Regions from separate parts of the Homo sapiens genome. Here region 1 is linked to region 2. Evidence: promoter capture Hi-C in 16 types of primary human blood cells and fetal thymus (Javierre and others, 2016). All regions are on one chromosome and are shown on one strand. The core of a region is centred on a gene start or on the middle of the fragment in contact, and the rest is flanking DNA. Distances in the headings are between cores, read along the strand shown. Region 1 overlaps CARNMT1-AS1 (CARNMT1 antisense RNA 1). Region 2 holds the start of PTAR1 (protein prenyltransferase alpha subunit repeat containing 1).

Region 1 (6,281 bases), core at 825-3,324, 5.2 Mb after region 2:
TCTCAAAAAAAAAAAAAAAAAAAAGGAAAAGGATAATACAAGCTTTAAATAAAACTAGTGTTTAAGAAGCTTCACAGTAGGTTGTTATTCAAAACAAAAGACTGAAGGGAGTCTGGGCTGAGGGAAGTAGCTAAAGCTAACAGAAAACACAAATCGAAGTGTATGTTTTGCATGTTTTGCGCAGCTGCTGTGGAAGGTGAAGCAGGCCCTACATTCCTGGAAGATCTCTTGATTAAAAACTTATGGAGGAAGTTACAGACAAAATGTGCAGCTCATCCAAAATAGCTGAGTAGTTGGCAAGAACCAAGCCTGAAGCGCAGCTGTCCTTTCTAACTGAAACCTAAAATTGTTGGGCTCTTAATTAATGTTGGAAGGCTGAGTTCCCTGCTTACTATGGGCGGTGGTCAGATCAAGATTCTATGGCCATTACAGCAAAATAGTGTTGTCAGGTGAAGTGAGGTGGAGACAATTGCAGTATATTTACTATTTTATTATTTTTATTTTTTATTTTGTTTGAGACAGGGTCTCTCTCGGCCACCTAGGCGGGAGTGCAGTGGTGCCATCACGGCTCACTGCAGCCGGGCCCCACTGAGCTCAAGCGATCTCCTGTCTGGGCCTCCCAAAGTGCTTGGTTTATAGGTGTGAGCCACCGCATCTGGTCGTATTTACTATTTTAATAGTTTGATAAAGACAGTAACCAAGTAAGCAGAAATGGAAGGAAGAAAATAAGACTATTACCAGTGCTTTGAAGGGAAAAACTATCATCCTCTGTAGAAAAAGTGTGCAAGAAAGATAATTCTATTTTAGTGCTAGGTACTATCTCAGTACTAATTTACCCTGTACCCCTGCATCTCAAGGTGGTTGTGAGAGGACAAGTTAATTATTAGTTATTAACAAGCACAGAAATGTACCAAGTTAGGGTAGTAAGCAATAGCTTTTCTGTTTGGTTTTTACTTTTCTTGTTTGAAATTGGTAACCGGCCGGGTGCGGTGGCTCACGTCTTTAATCCCAGCACTTTTGGGAAGATGAGGTGCACAGATCACCTGAGCCCAGGAGTTCCATACCAGCCTGGCCAACATGGTGAAACCCCATCTCTACAGAAAATACAAAAATTAGCCAGAGGTGGTGCCTTGCACCTGTAGTCCCAGGGAGGCTGAGGTGGGAGGATCGCTTGAACCCTGGAGGCAGAGGCCAAGATTGCACCACTGTACTTCCAGCCTGGGTGACAGTGTGAGACCCTGTCTCCAAAAAAAAAAAAATAAATTGAAAACCCGTCTGTCTCAAACAGAGGAAGAGTTTTGCCATTTTTAAATCAGCAGGAAAGATCTTAATCGTAGTCATCAAGTGCTGTTTGAAAGGTTTTGAGTACCCCCAAAATAATAAGTTTAGCTAATGGTTGGTTCTTTTGTGTTCCTCTTTACAAACGCTCATTTTTTCAAAATTGTGAAACTTATCATATATGCAAAAGGTTGTATAAAATACACATGTAGTTAAAAGAATGATAGTAAGACATACAGCATTCTGTTTCAGAAATAGAATACTACCTATACTAGAACATGACAAGCTCCCTATGCGTCCCTTCCCCACTGGCACATACCCTTCCCTTTCCCTCACTCCCGGTAATTACCGTTTTACATGTTGAGTTAATCATTCCTTTGCTTTTTAACTCTTCCATTTGTATGTCTGTATGTATATTGCTAAATAACTTTTTTTTTTTTTTTTTTGAAACGGGGCTTGCTCTGTTGCCCTGGCTGGAGAGCAGTGATATGATTACAGCTCACTGCAGCCCTGACCTCTCAGGGGCAAGCAGTCCTCCCACCTCAGCCTCCTGAGTAGCTGAGACTACAGGTGTACATCACCACACCCAGCTAATTTTTAAAATTTTTTTGTAGAGCCAGGGTTTTGCCACGTTGCCCAGACTTGTCTCAAAGTCCTGAACTCAAACAATCTGCCTGCCCTGGCCTCCCAAAGTGTTGGGATTACAGGCATGAGCCACCACACCCAGCTTAATATATTTTCTGAGACCAGGTCTTGCTCTGTTGCCCAGGCTGGAATGTAGTGGCGTGATCACTGCTCACTGCAGCTTCAACTTCCTGGCCTCAAGCAATCCTCCTGCCTCAGCCTCCCAAGTAGCTGGGCCCATGGCTTGTGCCACCACACCCAGCTAATTTTTTATTTTTAGTAGCAACAAGGTCTCACTATGTTGCCCAGGCTTGTTTTGCCGGGCTTTTTTTTGTTTTTGTTTTTAAAACAGCTTTACCTAGGTCTAAATGACACACAATAATGTGCATATAAAGTGTACAATTTGACATTCATACACCTGTGAAACCATAACCACCATCAAGATGATCAAAGTTTTGAGAGCAGTCTTTGACATCTTGTTCTTTAGGAGTGTGTCAACTATACTTGGCCCTTTGTTCTTCCATAATAGCATCCTCTGTAACATTTAGTTACCCTTTTGGAATTTTGGTTATAATTGCATTGAGATTATAGATCAATTTGGGAAGAATTATTATCTTTACAATACCAAGCTCATTTCCTGTTCAAGAATATAACTATTTAAGTTTTTAAAAATCTTTCAATAAAGTTTTATATTTCTCAACATAAAGAGCTTATATCTTTGTTAAGTTTATCCCTAGGCACTTTATAATTTTTGTAGACAATATTCTTTTTCTTTTTAAATAACATTTTCTGAGTTTTTGTTGCTGCTCTGGGTTCTTTTTTTTTTAAGGCCCCAGAAGTAGAATTTGAAATTAGTTTACCCTAAGTTGTAAGTAGTACCAGATCCACTTGTTCAAGGAATTTGTCCATTTCATTCATCACATTTGTTGGAATATTTTCTTAGTTTCTCTTTTTCCCATTTCATTGGCTTCTACTAAATTTGGATTTACTTTGCTCTTCTTTCTCTAGCTTCTTCTAATAGAACCTAGGTCACTGATTGTAGTCTTTGTTAGTTTCTTTTTGGAGACAGAGTCACTCTGGCTGGAGTGAAGTGGCACGATCTTGGCTCACTGCAGCCTCTGCCTCCCAGGTTCAAGCGATTCTCCTGCCTCAGCCTCCCGAGTAGCTGGGACTACAGGTGCATGCCACCGCACCTGGCTAATTTTTGCATTTTTAGTAGAGGTGGGGTTTCACCATGCTAGCCAGCTTGGTCTCAAACTCCTGACTTCAGGTGATCCACCCACCTCGGCCTCCCAAAGTGCTGGGATTACAGGCGTGAGCCACCGTGCCCAGCCGTCTTTGTTAGTTTCTAAAATAAACACTTAAAGCTGTAACTTTCCCTGTAGCACTGCTTGGGCTACATCCTACAAATTTTGGTATGTTGTATTTTTATTATCTTTCAGTTTGAAATACTTTCAAAATTTCCTTTCTTGTTACTCTACCTCCTTCCTATCGTTATGAATTTCATTTTAAGTTAACCTATTGGTATTTACTTAGCTATACCTCTTTGAATTAATAATGTGGTTGCCATAAGGACTGTTCATATACATCTTTATTTTTTCACAGTCTAGTTCGAGCTAACATTGTACCACTTTATGTAAAACATAAATACCTTGCACCCCTCCCCCTGCCCTATCTAAATGCATTTTTTATTGATGTAATAGGATCTTCTACCTATTCTACATATCCCATAATTTTGTGGATAATAACTCAGAAGTCATTAGTTACAACAAAACAACAAAGAAGGGAAACTTTTTTTCTTCTTACTGAAAAAGGAATACACACAAACTTATTCTGCTTATCTTTAAACTTGTGTGTTTCAGACTAACTGAAGCCTCACAGCAGTGTAGGGTGGGGAAGTAGTTTAAAATTTTTTAATTGCCAGAACTTTTACATATCTCATTTGATCCCAAAAACTTTGGGGCAGATTATTGCCAGTTTAACAGATAAACCTCTCCTCTGAGCATCAGATCCATGTGACTTCTCATGAGTCTACCTTAACCACCTTATTTAAAATTGCAACTCACTCTACATTTCTCCTGACTCTTGATTCCCCTCTTTTCCCATAGCATGATTACTTTCTAATCTATTATATATTTCACTTACTTATTACTCTTATTGTCTCCCTTTCTAGAAAGTAAGCTTGTTGAAGGTAGGGTTCCAGTTTGTTTTTTGGGTTTTGTCCCCAGTCATATACTCAAAGTGACTAGCATGGTAGGTGCTCAGTAAATATTCGTTGCCTGAATGAGTGTCCATTATTTCCATCTGGGTGTTCTGTAGGCATCTCATATTCCATCCTCCAGTGTCATCAGTCATCTATACAGGTACCCATACCAGAAATATAACTGTATTCTTTCATAATCACATTCACTCAATTTATTCTTTGAATACATATTTTAAGCATCTGCTACAGACCAGGCACTGGGTTACAACAGTAAAACAAAAATCCCTACCCCATGACTGTCCAAGGAATCTTGGGGGAGACAGACAATAAATAAGCACATCTATCAGGTGGTGCTGAGGAAAAATAAAAATAAGGCAGGATAAAAGGTCAAGATGGGCATCTCTGACAAGACTTTTGGGCCAAGACCTGAGGAAAGTGAGGGGGGGCAAATCATGTGATCCTAGTCAGATGTAATAGCAAGTATGAATGTCCAAAAGTGTAAAATAGCAAAAGCATGAGCAAAGGATGGCAAAAAAACAAAAACAAAACAAAACAAAACAAAAACCCAGTGCTGCCTTTTCCTCAATGTTTTGTTTTGGGTAGTGTCTGTTTCTTCAAGTTCACTAGTTCGTTCTCTTGTACCTTATCTGCTGTTAACCCCACACACTATTTTTTCATCCTACACAATGTACTTTTCATCTCTAGTTCCATTTGGGTCTTTTTTTCTATCTTCCAAATCTAGGTAACTTTTTGAACATATGGAATACAGTTATTCTGTTTTAATGCTCTCTGCTAATTCTGACATCTGTGTCAGGTCTGGTTTGGGTTCACCTGATCTTTCTCCTCTCTATGGGTCGTGTTATCCAGCATACCTGGTATTGTGTTTGTCAGCATACCTGGTAGTTTCTGATCAGACACCAGATATTTTTTTACTTTGTTGGGTGCTATTTTTGTATTTCAATAAGTATTCTTGAGATTTATTCTAGGATGCTGTTAAGTACATAGACATAGTTTGACCCATTTGGATCTTGCTTACAAGATTTGTCAAGTGGGACCTGAGCTTTTTTAATCTAGGGCTAATGACTCCACATTACCAAGGCAAGACTTCTCTGTACCACACCTAGTGCCCTACACATTTTGAGGTTTTATAGTCTGGGTGTGAGAACAAACACTCTGGCCCTGTGTGGGCCCTGGCTACTGTTCTGATACTTCAGGTGCTTTTTTTCTCTGGCCATGGTTTGTTTTCTCACACATGCACTGATCAGTAGTACTCTGAAGATTACTCAAGGGGCACTGTCCTCATATCTCCAGTGTTCTATGTGCAGCTACCAATGTTTGTATCATATTGGTTATTAAAATTTTAATAAGTGATTTTGTGTGGATAAGGATATGCAGAAACAGATGCTCTCTTTGTTTTAAAGTGTAAGTTAGTATAACCTTTTAAGAGAGCAATCTGGGCAGGGTGTGGTGGCTCATGCCTGTAATCCCAGCACTTTGGGAGGCCAAGCCGGGTGGATCACTTGAGGTCAGGAGTTTGAGACCAGTCTGACCAATGTGGTGAAACCCCATCTCTACTAAAAAATACAAAATTAGCCAGGCGTGGGGGCATGCGGCTGTAATCCCAGCTACTTGGGAGACTGAGGCAGGAGAATTGCTTGAACCCGGGAGGCGGAGGTTGCAGTAAGCCAAGATCGCACCATTGCCACTACAGCCTGGGCAGCAACAAGAGCGAAATTCCATCTCAAAAAAAAAAAAAAAAGAGCAATCTGACAATATCTGTAAAAATTAAAAAATACACACACACATTCTGAAACTGTAACTCTAGGAACTTATACTCCAGATATACTACTGACAATAGACATAAACAACTATGTACAGGATTATTACATTGTGGCATAATGCTACATAGCAAAAGATTGAAAACAACCGAATGTTACTTATTAGTAAAGTATGGCCTATATTATGTATTATATTAATAATATTAGTATAATACATATAATATGGATTTTATGTATAATGGAATGCTTTTTTTTTTTTTTTTTTTGAGTCAGAGTCTTGCTCTGTCACCCAGGCTGGAGTGCAGTGGCGCGCGATCTCGGTTCACTGCAATCTCTGCCTCCTGGGTTCAAGCAATTCTCCTGCCTCAGCTTCCCAAATAGCTGGGATTACAGGCATG
Region 2 (5,882 bases), core at 1,771-4,270:
GCTACCATATGGAACAGCACAGACACAGAAAATTTCCACCATTACAGAAATTTCTGTTAGTGCCTTGGGTTCAAGAACTGTATTTTAAACTTCTATTTCACACAGTAAAGATGGTACCCACAACACTTCATAAACAGTGAGTTCAATATTTAATAGAAAAAACAATAACTTGCTGGATAAGATTAATTTTAACGTGACTGTTTACATTATAAACTGTTGTCTTCTACATTAGCACAGGGTCCATACACTAAGTTAAAGACTATCCCTAGGTCAAGTTTTCAGTTTTAGAGAATCCAATATGATTATCTAATACTCAACCATACAAACAGCATTTATATAGTATTATCCAGGTTTATAAAGTGCTTCATATTCACCAATCATTTGTCCAATATATTTTTGGTGAGGAACACAGAGATTCAGGGAAGGTCTAATATTTATTGAGTGGCAACTAAGTACCACTGTGTGAGGTGATTTTCCTGTTTTCATCAGCCTCACAAGATCAAGAGGAAACTGAGGCTGAGAGAAGGTACCTATTCACATCATACAGTAACAAAATCCACATCTCACCACTGCATCCTCAACTCCTTCTGGCTAAATATTTCTACATAAACAAAGTCAATGTATTTAATGAAGTAGATGTTGGCCAATAAAATTACAACCGATCTTAAGTTTGGACAAGAAAAACAAAAAAATTTTTGTATAATACTGAAAGTGTAATTAGATACAGTAAAGTTAGATACAAACGTTACAGATAAACAATGCCTTAAAAAAAAAAAAAGAAACACAGCCTCTTTATTTTGGGAGTAAATGGGCTAAATTAAGGGAAGAAAGCGCAGGCAATTTTTAAAAGCCCAAATTATAAGGCACTTACAAAGATGCATAGTAATATTATTGAAAATAGTTTTACTGTGGGGAATATGTATTCAAATATAGCTGATGACTAGTCTTAAACAATGAGTTAAGCTATTTAAATGTTTAAGACCTATATTACAAATCATTACATTATTCCGAATATCCAACTTATCTCAAAGTTTTAAATCTCGAATGACCCAAATCCTTATTACTAATAAATTATACATTGAGGATATATTAATGAGGTTTTACAGTAGAAAAAGGATTAGGGAGGGGCATTAAAGTCCTTTAAGAGTTTCCATAAATGTGATCCACAAGAACTGGGACATGTTCCAAACTGCACTGTGTTAAAAACTGCCAAGCCAATGAACATTCAATCTTGGTTTCTTCAAATATAATGATGCTCTTTTAGTCTACCTCAAAGAAGAGAACATAAGATGATTACGACATTTTGTATTAGATTTCTAATCTCTGCTGTAATTTCTTCTAGAAAAATACCAGTGATGAGAAAATACACTCTTCATTTGTCCAACTTTTTTTTTTTTTGAGGTCGTCTCTTACTTGCACTAAGGCTCCCATTCTCAAAAAGAAATCGAAAGACTGATATACAGCAAGGCATCAAAGCATTCTTTAGAAGGCTCAGCAACCACTATGGATACTGCCAGGAAATCATTCCAAACACTCTCATTTTGAAAAAGGCAGCAGTCATAAGGGGGAGGGAAGTGGATGCTGTCAGAGGTGGCAGGTGTGTTTTGAGGCCAGCAGTGTTTTGTTTTTAATGTGGCACAGTTGCACGTCTCCAATTGTGTGCCACAAGGGAGCAAAACATCCAACGGCTTCTTAACTGTTTTACAATCATCACCTTGGAGGAAAAGAACACTTTGGTAAGATACACGTTTGGCAACTTTTTTAGGCAGAAAAGCTGAACCGGTTAGAATACTTAAAAAAAAAAATCATGAGCTCCAGTCTAAAGAATAAAATAAAAATAAATTAAATAATAATAAAAAATAATAAACTAAAAAAAAAAAAAATAAACTCCAAAAACAACTAGCTAAAATGAAAGTAATGCAGAACTGGATGCCATGTTTCTTTTCTTTGAGGAGGAAGAGGTATGGGAAAGGAGGTACATTGTTGCTTCTTCCCTACACCTTTGTATAATGTAGATCTCTCTCTCTCTCTCAATAGCTTTCTTTTCACTTGTTACATAAAAGCAAAGTGTTACAAAAAGTAGACTCTTGCGGTATCTTCCCACAGTACTTCAAGTAAAATGGAAGAGATACATATGTCAGTTCTGCAGTGTCCCGTTAAAGAGGGCAGCAGTGTTGGGATAAAAATGAGTTAACATGCTCCTTGTAACTATGAATCCGCTTATGCTAAAAAGTATCAAGGTTTCATTTGCTTTATCCCAGACTCCACACTGCGCCCACAGAAGCTTCTCTTGAGAATGTTCTGTTCACCTTTCAAAACACAATGTATTATCGGAGTCACTTTACAATTTTGTGGCAAGTAAGGCTAAAGTCAAAAGCAGCCTCAAACCACCTTTAGTTAGTAAACTGAGGGGTTTGAGGCTCATTAAAAGTAAGAGGATCGGTTACCCCCTCTTGCCAACGTCCGGGATGAATCTCAAGAGTTGTGTTTACAAGGCATACACGGACCCACATCGTTGTGTGCGCCCGAGTACCTTAAACACAGGAAGGATGTCGACCTACGGGGGACGTCTCTGGAGTTTCGTGAACTCCTATGAAAAGGTGGGGAGGGACAGAGAAAGTAGTTCCGTTTTGATTTTTTGAGGTCACTTCTAGGGACTCGACCGCGAGCGCGTCCCGGTAGCGGAAAGCCGGGCCAGCGGCGGCCGACAACGGTCCCGCCCGACACGGCTCTGCCTCCTCCCTAGAAGGGCTCGTGGGCCAGGACCCGCTGTCCGCCCGCCGCCCGAGGTCGGGTGGACGCTTGGCCCCGCCCCCGCCCGCTCCCGACGACCCTCGGAGGCGGCGGAGGCGCGCGACTCACATGTGTGGGTTCCTCCTGAAGGCGTTAGTGATGTCCTTCACAACCCGCTGCACCAGCACCGCCACCTCCTCGCTGGTCTCGGCCATGTTGGCGGCGGCCGCGACAGTTCGGGCGCGCCTCCGCGTGAGCCGGGCCGCCGGCGGGAGTTCCGCGGAGAACGAGCGCGCGCGCGCGCGCGCGGGTGCTTCGGCTAGGCCGCGTCCCCGCCGCCGCGGCCGCCGCCGAGCACTTCCGGGTCAGCCAGTTGGCGGCCTGGGCGTGGCGTTAGCTAGGGTTGGTGGCCTTCCAGTGAGTGGAGAAGTTCGCCTCCGCGCGGGTAACGGACTTTCTAAGCGTCAGAGAAGATGCTGGACATTTGTTTGCAAAGTTCTCTCAGGCCTCCGATTTTCTTATTTTAAGTTTTAGGCGAAACCTCAAGACACACTCCCAGAGAGTCAGACACCTTCCTGAACCCCCCCAGCAAGGTCCCCGGGCATTCCTGAAGGAATGTTCAACTGAGGATGCAGGGCCTCTTAACAGTTAGTCCCGGGCGTTTTTCAGAGCTTGTCTGCTTTATTTTCCCAGCCTGAGAGATGAAGAGGTCCAGAGGCATTGCGGCGGAGCGAGTCCCTATTTGACCGTGTTGGTGACCTCCTTTCTAACTGTGCCAATTTTTGTCTCTGAACTTGAAAGCAGCCTTTTTAAAAAACATTAATTAAAATTCTTAAATTTATTAAAGGAAGAGAAAGGAAAGTGAAGGAAAAGTTATTTGCCATCTGTATGTAGGAAGTAGAAGTGAAATCGTTTTTAGATTTTTCGACTTCATTTTGTACTGCATTTGGTAGCCTTTGCGTCAATTTTGGAATTTAAAAAAAAGGATCAAGGCTCTGACAGGGTTTGTTCATAATAGCAAAAATAAATTTTTGTAGGAAAAACGAGCTTTCTAGTTTATTTAGGATTTTGAAATGCCATAACTAAAATTTTTGTGTATCAGGTTTTCTTTTGCACCTCTGGTAGAAAAATCTGGCTGCCCTTGGTTCAGTTTTATTCTTCCACCCTTGAAATCTGGCCAGGTGCGGTGGCTCACGCCTGTAATCCCAGCACTTTGGGGGGCCAAGGCGGGCGGATCACAAGGTCAGGAGATCGAGACCATCCTGGCTAACACGGTGAAACCCCGTCTCTACTAAAAATACAAAAAAAAAAAAAAAAAAAAAAAAGCCGGGCGTGGTGGCGGGCGCCTGTAATCCCAGCTACTCCCCACTGCACTCCAGCCTGGGCGACAGAGCGAGACTCCGTCTTTAAAAAAAGGCCGGGCGCGGTGGCTCACGCCTGTAATCCCAGCACCTTGGGAGGCCGAGGCGGGTGGATCATGAGGTCAGGAGATCGAGACCATCCTGGCTAACAAGGTGAAACCCCGTCTCTACTAAAAATACAAAAAATTAGCTGGGCGCGGTGGCGGGCGCCTGTAGTCCCAGCTACTCGGGAGGCTGAGGCAGGAGAATGGCGTGAACCCGGGAAGCGGAGCTTGCAGTGAGCCGAGATTGCGCCACTGCAGTCCGCAGTCCGGCCTGGGCGACAGAGCGAGACTCTGTCTCAAAAAAAAAAAAAAAGAAATCTGTATCTTTAAAAAGCTATTAAAAAAATAAACTCATGGTGTGTTTAATGTGAACATATGCGGAGCGTTTGAAGTAGTTTTTATGATTGTAAAAGTAAAAGCTATCTATTGCATGTAAAGTGAATGAGAAATATAAACGAAAAATATAAATTTACTATACTCAGTGGCCAGTATTTCCTGTGGGTATGTTTATAAAGGCTGGAGTTAGCCTTCTGGTTGTAAAAGAAGTGAGATAGGACCGGGCACGGTGGCTTACACCTGTAATCCCAGCACTTTGGGAGGCAGAGGCGGAAGGATCACGAGGTCAGGAGTTCGAGACCATCGTGGCCAAGACAGTGAAACGCCGTCTCTACTAAAAATATAAAATTAGCTGGGCGTGGTGGCACGTGCTTGTAATCCCAGCTACTTGGGAGGCTGAGGCAGGAGAAGCGCTTGAACGCGGAAGTAGGAGGTTGCAGTGAGTGGAGATCGCGCCACTGCCCTCCAGCCTGGCGACAGAGCAAGACTCCATCTAAAAAAAAAAAAAAAGAAGTGAGATAGAAGTTTCACAAAATTGTAGCCAGCAAGGTGGGACAGGATTAAGAATTAGTAAAGTCGGCCGGGCACGGTGTCTCACGCCTGTAATCCCAGCACTTTGGGAGGCCGAGGCGGGTGGATACCTGAGATCAGGAGTTTGAGACCAGCCTGGCCAACAGGGTGAAACCCCGTCTCTACTTAAAATACAAAATTAGCTGGGCGTCGTGGTGCATGCCTGTAGCTCCAGCTACTTGGGAGGCTGAGGCAGGAGAATCGCTTGAACCCGGGAGACGCACGTTGCAGTAAGCCAAGACTGTGCCCTGCACTCCAGCCTGGGCAACAAAAGCGAAATGCCATCTCAAAAAAAAAAAAAAAAAAAAAAGAAAGAAAAAAAAAGAGTTAGTAAAATCAATCAAAATTTAACCGATAACAAGTTCTGGAGTGAAGCAGTGAAAAGAGTGGAATGTGTGTTTAGATTTCAAGGCAAAAGACAACTTTAAATATCCTGATTAAGAATGTAAGACCAGTTCTTAAATTAAAATTCTTAAACTTAGTAAGTTTTCTTAATCAGGACCTTGCATCCTAATGGCAGTGGGAAATAAATCCCAATTTCTGGAGGCAGAGATCAAAGCAGCACACTCAGAAATAATGATTTTCCCCGAAAGGCTTTATTTAACAGGGAAAAAAGAAAACTTTGTCCCCAAATTTTGATGTAAAACAGCTATTTCAGAAACAGAATTCCTCTGTATGATTCTGTGTATGCCCTCTCCACATGCAACCTCTTTATAGTCATTTGAAAGGCATGCATTGTATCTTGTTTCCTCTAAGAATTCACAAATTGTTTTACCCCAATTATTAAGAATCTACTATGTTTAGAACTTGTTTTTTTTTTTAGAATTGGAGCATAATT

The links. The method cuts DNA at HindIII sites, captures the fragments that hold promoters and counts their contacts. A CHiCAGO score of 5 or more calls a contact.
Region 1: a fragment that was not itself captured here is called in contact with the fragment with the promoter of PTAR1 in region 2 in 4 of 17 cell types (total B cells, naive B cells, naive CD8 T cells and 1 more); the score reaches 12.9 in total B cells.

Annotation. Positions count from the first base shown.
Region 1 is chr9:74,953,434-74,959,714 of GRCh38, forward strand. All of the region lies in intron 1 of CARNMT1-AS1 (CARNMT1 antisense RNA 1), which reads left to right. Among named protein-coding and RNA genes, the nearest start is that of CARNMT1-AS1, 3.6 kb to the left of the region's middle. The HindIII fragment of the contact is 4,014 bases long and covers 68-4,081 here.
Region 2 is chr9:69,756,991-69,762,872 of GRCh38, forward strand. PTAR1 (protein prenyltransferase alpha subunit repeat containing 1) reads right to left here and starts at 3,021. Exons shown (of 8, transcript NM_001099666.2): 1 at 2,863-3,021. The coding sequence starts at 2,948. LOC105376076 (a long non-coding RNA gene) reads left to right here and starts at 3,105. Exons shown (of 4, transcript XR_929910.3): 1 at 3,105-3,483. RefSeq lists enhancers at 2,519-2,568, 4,043-4,898, 5,753-5,882 and silencers at 2,709-3,178, 5,083-5,377. The HindIII fragment of the contact is 9,606 bases long and covers 2,283-5,882 here.